3 separate regions of the Homo sapiens genome follow, and regions 2 and 3 are each linked to region 1. Evidence: promoter capture Hi-C in 16 types of primary human blood cells and fetal thymus (Javierre and others, 2016). All regions are on one chromosome and are shown on one strand. Each heading gives the region's core, a stretch centred on a gene start or on the middle of the fragment in contact. The rest is flanking DNA. Distances are from core to core; before and after follow the strand shown.

Evidence for each region. The method cuts DNA at HindIII sites, captures the fragments that hold promoters and counts their contacts. A CHiCAGO score of 5 or more calls a contact.
Region 2: a contact is called between the fragment with the promoter of RWDD1 here and the fragment with the promoter of NUS1 in region 1, in 5 of 17 cell types (total CD4 T cells, non-activated CD4 T cells, naive CD8 T cells and 2 more). The highest score is 10.0, in total CD4 T cells.
Region 3: the fragment with the promoter of ZUP1 here is called in contact with the fragment with the promoter of NUS1 in region 1 in 8 of 17 cell types (total CD8 T cells, total CD4 T cells, monocytes and 5 more); the score reaches 10.5 in total CD8 T cells.

What each region holds. Positions count from the first base shown.
Region 1 is chr6:117,674,102-117,676,838 of GRCh38, forward strand. It overlaps NUS1 (NUS1 dehydrodolichyl diphosphate synthase subunit), which reads left to right and starts at 1,368. Exons shown (of 5, transcript NM_138459.5): 1 at 1,368-1,984. The coding sequence starts at 1,570. LOC101927919 (a long non-coding RNA gene) reads right to left here and starts at 1,183. Exons shown (of 3, transcript NR_110854.1): 1 at 996-1,183; 2 at 546-734. The HindIII fragment of the contact is 6,476 bases long and covers 1-2,737 here.
Region 2 is chr6:116,570,152-116,572,888 of GRCh38, forward strand. It overlaps RWDD1 (RWD domain containing 1), which reads left to right and starts at 1,353. Exons shown (of 7, transcript NM_015952.4): 1 at 1,353-1,504. The coding sequence starts at 1,432. RefSeq lists enhancers at 748-927, 958-1,287, 1,508-1,607 and a silencer at 1,328-1,407. The HindIII fragment of the contact is 4,586 bases long and covers 1-2,737 here.
Region 3 is chr6:116,667,365-116,670,101 of GRCh38, forward strand. It overlaps ZUP1 (zinc finger containing ubiquitin peptidase 1), which reads right to left and starts at 1,402. Exons shown (of 10, transcript NM_145062.3): 1 at 1,202-1,402. RefSeq lists a silencer at 326-475 and an enhancer at 1,237-1,426. The HindIII fragment of the contact is 3,066 bases long and covers 1,158-2,737 here.

The sequences.
Region 1 (2,737 bases), core at 118-2,617:
TGAAGGGTGTGCCTGGTGCCCAGCCCTCAGTTCTTCAGGCTGCACTGCCAAAGGGAGGAAAATTGCACTGCGAAAGGGAGATGGACATGAGATTCAACTTTTAAAGTAAAGTTAAATGAGTCTTAGAAACCAAAATGAGACTAGTTGAAAAAGTGACAATGTTAGAAAAATTAAGTCACATAGCCAAGACGTGAACAGATGTTTCCCAGGGGGAAAAAGAGGCTTTAGCGAACAAAGAATAGGTAGGTATTACAAAAACGCAACTGTTTACACACACACACGTGTGTAAATATGTGTGTATACGTGTGTATGTGTACAGTTGCATTTTTGTAATACCTCCCTAATCTTTATATATATACTTATATAAATATAAATGCAAATAATATAAATATTATTGTTGCACACACACATATATATGATGATAGAGGATGTAGCATGTAGGATAAACCTTGAGAAATGGGTTGGAATGTCGGCAATACCAAGTCGGGAATCAGGAATTCAGGAGAAGAGCTTGAACAAAAAGGGCAAAGACAGTACAGACTTACCGCGGGGAAGTACAAAACCATTCTAGAGGACCACGTCGAAGTCCACATGGACAGAAACATTAGGGTGTTAAAGGGGATGATAAGGCTTGGATGGGCAGTTTGCTTCAAATAGTGGCGGTCATTGAAGTCAGGCACAATTTCTATTTTTTTTCCCCACTGTAAACCTAACCCACGGCGGTTGGTCAAAGTCTTGCCGAATAAAAAAAAAAAAAAAAAAAAAGAATTAAGTGACTGGACTGCCAAGCTGTAGAGCCTCTATTAAGCAATGTACAGCCAGGAAAGGATACCTTAGATGAGAATGACATGGGTAGAGGGGTGTTTCAGGAACATGGCTAAAGAGCCTCGCTCCCAGCCTCAGCCGGGAGGCTGAATAAAGGACAGTAGCAGGATCACTCCAGCCTTTGAGGACACTTTTGGAAACCCTGGTGGATTCCCAGCATCAACACTTACTGAGGGCTGCTTTCCATCCCTAGGTTCTTTCCGGCATTTGTAATTTCCAATCCACTTAGGACACTTCTACTCCTCAGAAACCGTTTCTGTCGGGGCCGTGAGAGGAGACAGTATAAGACTTCCTGGACCCAAGGGACGCCGGGTCCCCTGGAAGCGCCCATCGCATTGAAGACCACGTGTGCCTTGCTGGGGTCCCATTCAGACAAGTCCCGGGTCGTTCGCTCATCGCCCTCCACGCGACCAGGGGGCGCCCGCGGTATCGGCCCGGCTAGTTCGCAGGCGTGCGCCTTCCCTCACTGCGCCGGAACGGGCCACGTTCTCGGACCCAGAAGCCGCGTCAGAATTCCACGCTGGCCAATCGGAACTGTCCATGTACTACTGGGGGCGGGGCTGCCAAGGGAGGAGGAAGATGGCGGCGGGGGCGAGGTGAGGTGTTGGCAGTGGAAAGGGGTTCGGGCTCGGGGGGCGGGGGGACGCGGAGCGATGGCCCGCGCCGGCCGCAGGGGCGGATAAAAAGCCGTCGCGCTGCGGGAGTGGGCGGGAGGGAGAGGGGGTGTCTGAGGGCCACAAGAGTATGACGGGGCTGTACGAGCTGGTGTGGCGGGTGCTGCACGCGCTGCTCTGTCTGCACCGCACGCTCACCTCCTGGCTCCGCGTTCGGTTCGGCACCTGGAACTGGATCTGGCGGCGCTGCTGCCGCGCCGCCTCTGCCGCGGTCCTAGCGCCGCTCGGCTTCACGCTCCGCAAGCCCCCGGCAGTCGGCAGGAACCGCCGTCACCACCGGCACCCGCGCGGGGGGTCGTGCCTGGCAGCCGCACACCACCGGATGCGCTGGCGCGCGGACGGTCGTTCCTTGGAGAAGCTGCCTGTGCATATGGGCCTGGTGATCACCGAGGTGGAGCAGGAACCCAGCTTCTCGGACATCGCGAGCCTCGTGGTGTGGTGTATGGCCGTGGGCATCTCCTACATTAGCGTCTACGACCACCAAGGTGAGGCCCGGTGCGGTGGTGGGGGGTGGCCGAGGCGTCTTGGACCGCTAGACCGCTGGTCTGGCGGGTGGTGCCCATGGCACGAGTTGCCGCGGCCTCTCTGCAAATCACAGCGCTAGCGCTTTCGAGGAAGGGAGATCAGCTTTATTGAACACCTACTAATTCTCTGGATTTGACTCAGTAGCTTTTTAACATTTTAAAAATATCCCTTGGCCGGGCGCGGTGGCTCATGCCTGTAATCCCAGCACTTTGGGAGGCCGAGGCGGACGGATCACCTGAGGTCGGGAGTTCGAGACCAGCCTGACTAACATGGAGAAACCCCGTTTCTACTAAAAATACAAGTTTAGTCGGGCGTGGTGGCATATGCCTGTAATCCCAGCTACTAGGGAGGCTGAGGCAGGAGAATCGCTGGAACCCGGGAGGCGGAGGTTGTGGTGAGCCGAGATCGCGCCACTGCACTCCAGCCTGGGCAACAAGAGCGAAACTCTGTCTCAAATAAGTAAATAAATAAATAAAAATAAATAAAAAATCTCTTATTCGTTATAATACTGCAGTAATGTAGATGGTATTTGTATACCCTTGCCAAGGTTTAAAAACATTAACTGATTTGCCCAAGGCCACAAGATCGTAATGGGGCCACAAAGATCGGAATGAGGATATTGGAATTTTAGCCATTCTGTGCTTTTTCACAATCTTTGCCTTTGGTTACACCACACTGTTTCTTTAAGAGAGCTTCCAGGCGCTGTTCTTAAG
Region 2 (2,737 bases), core at 103-2,602, 1.1 Mb before region 1:
TCATTAAAGTTTAAAAGAACGCCTGAAATCAACCCTTAATACCGTAAACACGGAATCAGTATCAAAGTGTTCCTCTGCTATAGGTAAGCAGCACTCCTCAATAAAAGATCAAGGTGCCTTCTGGTGCTTCAGGGGCTTCATCATTAGGAATCTTTCATTTAAAAAGTGTTCCTCCCACTATACCAGTGAAACCAGCTTTAATACAGAGAAATCAAAACAAAGAAAAATACAGAAAAGTGGGCAACAGCTTTTGAGTATTTTCTTAAAATTTTCCATTTTTCGACTTAGCGCAATAATATAATAAAGGAACATGGGATCCTTTATTATTGTTACCATAGTTTTTAATATCATTTTCATAAAGCTAACCATGTTTATTTAGCCATTTTCTTAGCTTTTGCCATCATGGTTCTTTGAAAATTTTCTTTGTAATTGCTGCAATGATTTTGGAGATCACAGATGCATGCTACTTGCTCAAGTTTATTCTTGGAAGTCGTATTACCAAATTAAAGGTTCTCAACATTTCTCGGGGTACTGCAATTTTTACATTGCATATGATAATTGTTATTACTGAGATCTACATTCCTTTCATCAATTCACAAATACACAATCACAGACATCTTGAGATCTATCATACGTCCAGCTGCGTTCATTTCACAAAATCAGAAGTTAAGCCTAAAGATCTGAACCGAGAAGCCGGACCTCCGGTCTATTTCTCCCTCCTGGATCCACCCCGACTTATTAAGCAGTTAGACCGACCCTTCCATACTCATTCAAGGCAGTGCAGAGCTTTTGCTCCCCTGCCCAGTGGAATCTACACTGGTCCCAGCCTCTCGTCCAACTCCCGTAGGACGCCAAGCAATACGGAGTTCGAGAAGCTCAGAAATCTCCTGAGCCCCACCAGTCCACACTAGGTTGCAAGCCCGCAGCACCTACGCCACGGCGTCAAACCGGAAACCAGAAAAGGTGAAGGCATCGGACGCCCCTCGCCCCAGCCCGGCCACCAGCGACACTATCCTTCACTGACGCGCGATGCCGGCCTTTCAGCCCAGACTCATCGAGCGAGGATGCAGCGCTGAGAGGCTTCTAAGGCTCAGGCCCTGCAAAGCCCAGGAGCCGGCTGTAGGTGTCCTTGGCGAATGCCAGACCGCGCGCACCGTCCCAGCAAGTCCCGAGCGAGTGTGGGACAGGCAGCAAATCAGTGCCCCCTGGCCAGGCAGAACGAGTCGAACGTGGAAGTAGGGAGCAGGCGGAGGCCGGCGCGGAGCTGCAGTTAAGCAAGCCGGGTCTGGCTTTGGGCCCTGGGCCTTCCAGCCGGGGACTCTGCGCCTGCGCCCGCCTGGCCGCCGCCCGCTCTCCCGGCGCGGCAGCTGTCTGGGCTGCTGCGCGCCGCCTAGGTGTCTGGGCGATCTATGGGCAAGAGCAAGGGCCACGATGACAGATTACGGCGAGGAGCAGCGCAACGAGCTGGAGGCCCTGGAGTCCATCTACCCTGACTCCTTCACAGGTGACTCCCGCGGCCGCAAGCCTGTAGCCGCCCCGAGGTGGAGTAGGACGGGCAGGAGCTGCCGCAGCTCTGGGCCTCATAGGTTGGGGTGGAGAAGGGGACCTTGAGGCCGCGCGGCCACCTTGCCCTCCACTCCTCAAGTTCTTCAGTCACTTACCAGCAACCCAGTGACTTTTTCTCCTTCTCTGCTTGTTCCCGGAAATCTAAAAGTCCGGGTGATGTTGGAGGGTGTCAGGCCTGAAAATTGAGTCGGGATTACTTTGGTTTCTGTGTAACCTACAGCAACCTGAGATTTATAATACATTAAGAGAAAAAATACTCCAAGTGCGATTCGTTTTTCCACAGCCGCAAGAATGTTAGTTTTCACATTTTTAGCTTTATTAAGGTAGAAACTGTTTTTCATACGATGCTGTTTTAGTTTATAGGATTCAGAGTGCTGTTTTCAGTTACTCAAATCGGTTTTGAGAGTAGCATAGTCCCTGAAGTCTGTCGGGTTTCTTTTCTTATGAAAAAAAAAAAAATCTGGCATTCAGCAGAATGCCTAATGGATAATGTGGCCCAAATTTCCGTTCTGCTATAAATTCATAGGTTGTTAGATTGGAAGGGAGATTAAACATCATCTATCCTGGGGCTCCTGCTCCAAGCCAAGGTCATGGGGGTTCAGGAAAGCTAAGTGGCTTGCTCTGTACTGTCCGCCAGCGAGTTAGCGGCAGGGCTGGTACTGAGTTATACGTCCAGAACGCTTGCCTGTTCTTTCACTTTCCAGACATATGGGACTTGGGATTCAGCTCCAGCTGAGATTGAGAGAGCAGAAGATTACTTGGTAGGTTGGGCTAATGTAAAATATTATAATGAGAAGTTCATTAGGTATAATTTAGAGGACGAGATTTCTCTATTAAGCCATGCTTCGGATGATTATAAAAATGCTACATAACTATATCAATATGGCTCCTCTGAGATTTGAGAAGCGGTCAAATAAAGCCAATATGAGTGAGTAGAACCTAGGTGTGTGCATTTACATTCCCCATCCTTTCCTTTGAGTGTTGCCTATCGTTGATAGTCAGAATTTATAGTGTAAGGTATATTACTTTAACTTATAAATTCCAACCCCTCTCCCTTTCATTGTTTAGCTTAGTTTTCTTGGCTTCACCTTTTGACCACTGCTTGCAATGGTAGCAAATTTTGTTCTGCTTTGCCAACAGGCAGATGTCTCTCAGCTATCCCTGTATAGCT
Region 3 (2,737 bases), core at 152-2,651, 1.0 Mb before region 1:
ATATCAACCAAAATTTCATTTATTTTTTTTTAAAAAAAGGCAATAATAATGAATACAAGTAATTTTAAAAATAAAATATTTCAAAAAATGTCTCTGGCCCAAGGTGGAGAAAAAATAACGTTTAAAAAATTGTCCAGGTAAGATAAATCAGGTAAGAAAAAAATGAAGAGAAGAAACCTATTTATCAACTGATATATCTAAATACTGAATACTGAAGCTGATTATATTGAGGAGGTAAATAAACACATCTTACAAGTAGAGTTTAACACTGTAAACTTAGAGTCTTACATGTATCAAGTGCTATTTAAGTGCTATTATTGTAATTTAAGTACTATTATTATCGCTCTACACATAAAGAAATTCTGGCTCAGACAGGTCACCACAAGCAGAAAAAGGTGGAAGCCAAAATGCCAACCCCGTCGTGCTCCACAGCCTGTACTCTCAGCCCCAAGAATAAAAGCAGAAGTGGTATAGTAGAAAAAAGCACTTATTCCAGAGTCAAGAGAACTGGGTAATAATTTCAGATTCATCATTTTGGGTAAGGAATCTCATCTCTCTGAGGTTCAGTCAAAGACTACTGTAAAATCCAAAGGTAGTTATTTTTGGATTTTATGGACAAATAAAGTACTGACTACTGACATAAAAGTGTTAAAAAAATAATTTTAAAAAAAGCAATCACTTCGCCACCACCTTCCTACTACAGGTCATCGTTCAGCTAAAGACTATTTAAAATCAAACAGGAAAAGTAATGACACTATCACTTCATTTAAATAAATTTACCTTTAAAATACCTCCCTACATTGTCCTTATTTTTTTCATTTCTCTCCAGACAAATGGATACAGTCTCTGATTTTAGAAGGCAGTTCTCCCGAGCCCCCAGTGGGATTAATGTCACACCCGGAGTTTCTTCTCTTCCGGTGGCTGGGACACGGTCAGACACAGAATGATGAACTTGGACATGGACTCAGATTAAGCGGGTAAGAGACAAGAGAGTACCCAGGTGCCTCAGAGGAAGCGAGTGAGAGGCATGAAGGACCCAGTGCCAAGCTAGGTACGTGGTGGGTGAGGTCAGAAGACCGCAAGGCCGAGTCTCCCAAACGTTCCGCGCCAAAGGCACAAGCCAGGCACACGAAACTAGCAGGCACTAACTGGGTCAAAGCTTTGGGCCTGGGGAATAAGGGAGGGGACCATCAATTCTTACCGGCCCAGAGGCCAGCAGCTGCCACACTGAGCTCCGCTAGGCTTCCCCTTTGGGCCTCGCTGGCAGACGAGTGCGTGCGCGGCGTCCAGTACCTCTCCTGGCCTGATGACTGAGGCCAGGCCTTCCCAATACGCAGAGTTTCACAGTTAACCGAGGAAAGAATTAGGAACTTCCAACACCTTGGCCCTCAGTACCTCATTCAAAAGCACTTCCTTACTCCCACGGAAAAGAAGTAATCCCAGAATGCGCCGCTCCACGCCGGTCTCTATGCAGTGCATTCTGGGAGATGTAGTCTTTTTTTTTTTTTTTTTTTTTTGAGACGGAGTCTCGCTCTGCTGCCCAGGCTGGAGGGCAGTGCGCGATCTCGGCTCACTGCAAGCTCCGCCTCCCGGGTTCACGCCATTCTCCTGCCTCAGCCTCCCGAGTAGCTGGGACTACAGGCGCCCGCCACCATGCCTGGCTAATTTTTTGTATTTTTAGTAGAGACGGGGTTTCACCGTGTTAGCCAGGATGGTCTCGATCTCCTGAGAGATGTAGTCATTTTTGCATTCCTCCCATTTCCGAGTTTTTCCTTCTCCCATCGAGTTTCCTGCCACTCAATTGCTAGGAGAGAAAACCGGGCTCTGAGGTCATTCATACTTAATCTGAATGAGTTCACAGGGCAGGTCCTGGGGCAAATAGCAGTCTACACTAGGGCCTGCTGAGTAGCACTCTATTTTAGTATCAATAAAGGGTTTATAATGCTGCTAGGTATCAAGCTCCCAGCTATGCACCGAAGGTAAAGGATACCAGGTTCTTTCCTCAAGGTTACAAGATAACAAATATCTTGGTTTGTATGTATGTATGTATGTATATATATATATTTTTTGAGACGGAGTCTTGCTCTGTCGCCCAGGCTGGAGTGCAGTGGTGCCATCTCTGCTCACTGCAAGCTCCGCCTCCCGGGTTCACGCCATTCTCCTGCCTCAGCCTCCCAAGTAGCTGGGACTACAGGCGCCCGCCACCACGTCTGACTAATTTTTTGTATTTTTAGTAGAGATGGGGTTTCACCGTGTTATCCCGGATGGTCTCGATCTCCTGACCTCGTGATCCGCCCCCCTCGGCCTCCCAAAGTGCTGGGATTACAAGCGTGAGCCACCGTGCCCGGCCGTATGTATGTATTTTTAGAGAGGAGGACTCTTTCTGTCACCCAGGCCAGAGCACAGTGGCTAAAATAGCTCACCGCAGCCTCGAACTCCTGGCCTCAAATGATCCTCCCATCTCGGCCTCCCAAAGTGTGAGCCACCATGTTAGCCCAAAATCACAAATATCTTGTCATTCAGGCTTTATTTCATTCAACAAATATTTAAAGAGTGTCTATTAGAAAGGCGTTTTGCTTGCAACAGGAGCTGCAGCAGTAATCAAAATACACAAAATTCAGGATTTTTGAGGCTTACATGCTGGTGAGGTAGAGGAAATAAAAAGTAAATTAACTGATCATGATAAGTGCTATGAAGAAAATAAAACTGGATTGGCCAGGCTCAGTGGCTCACATAT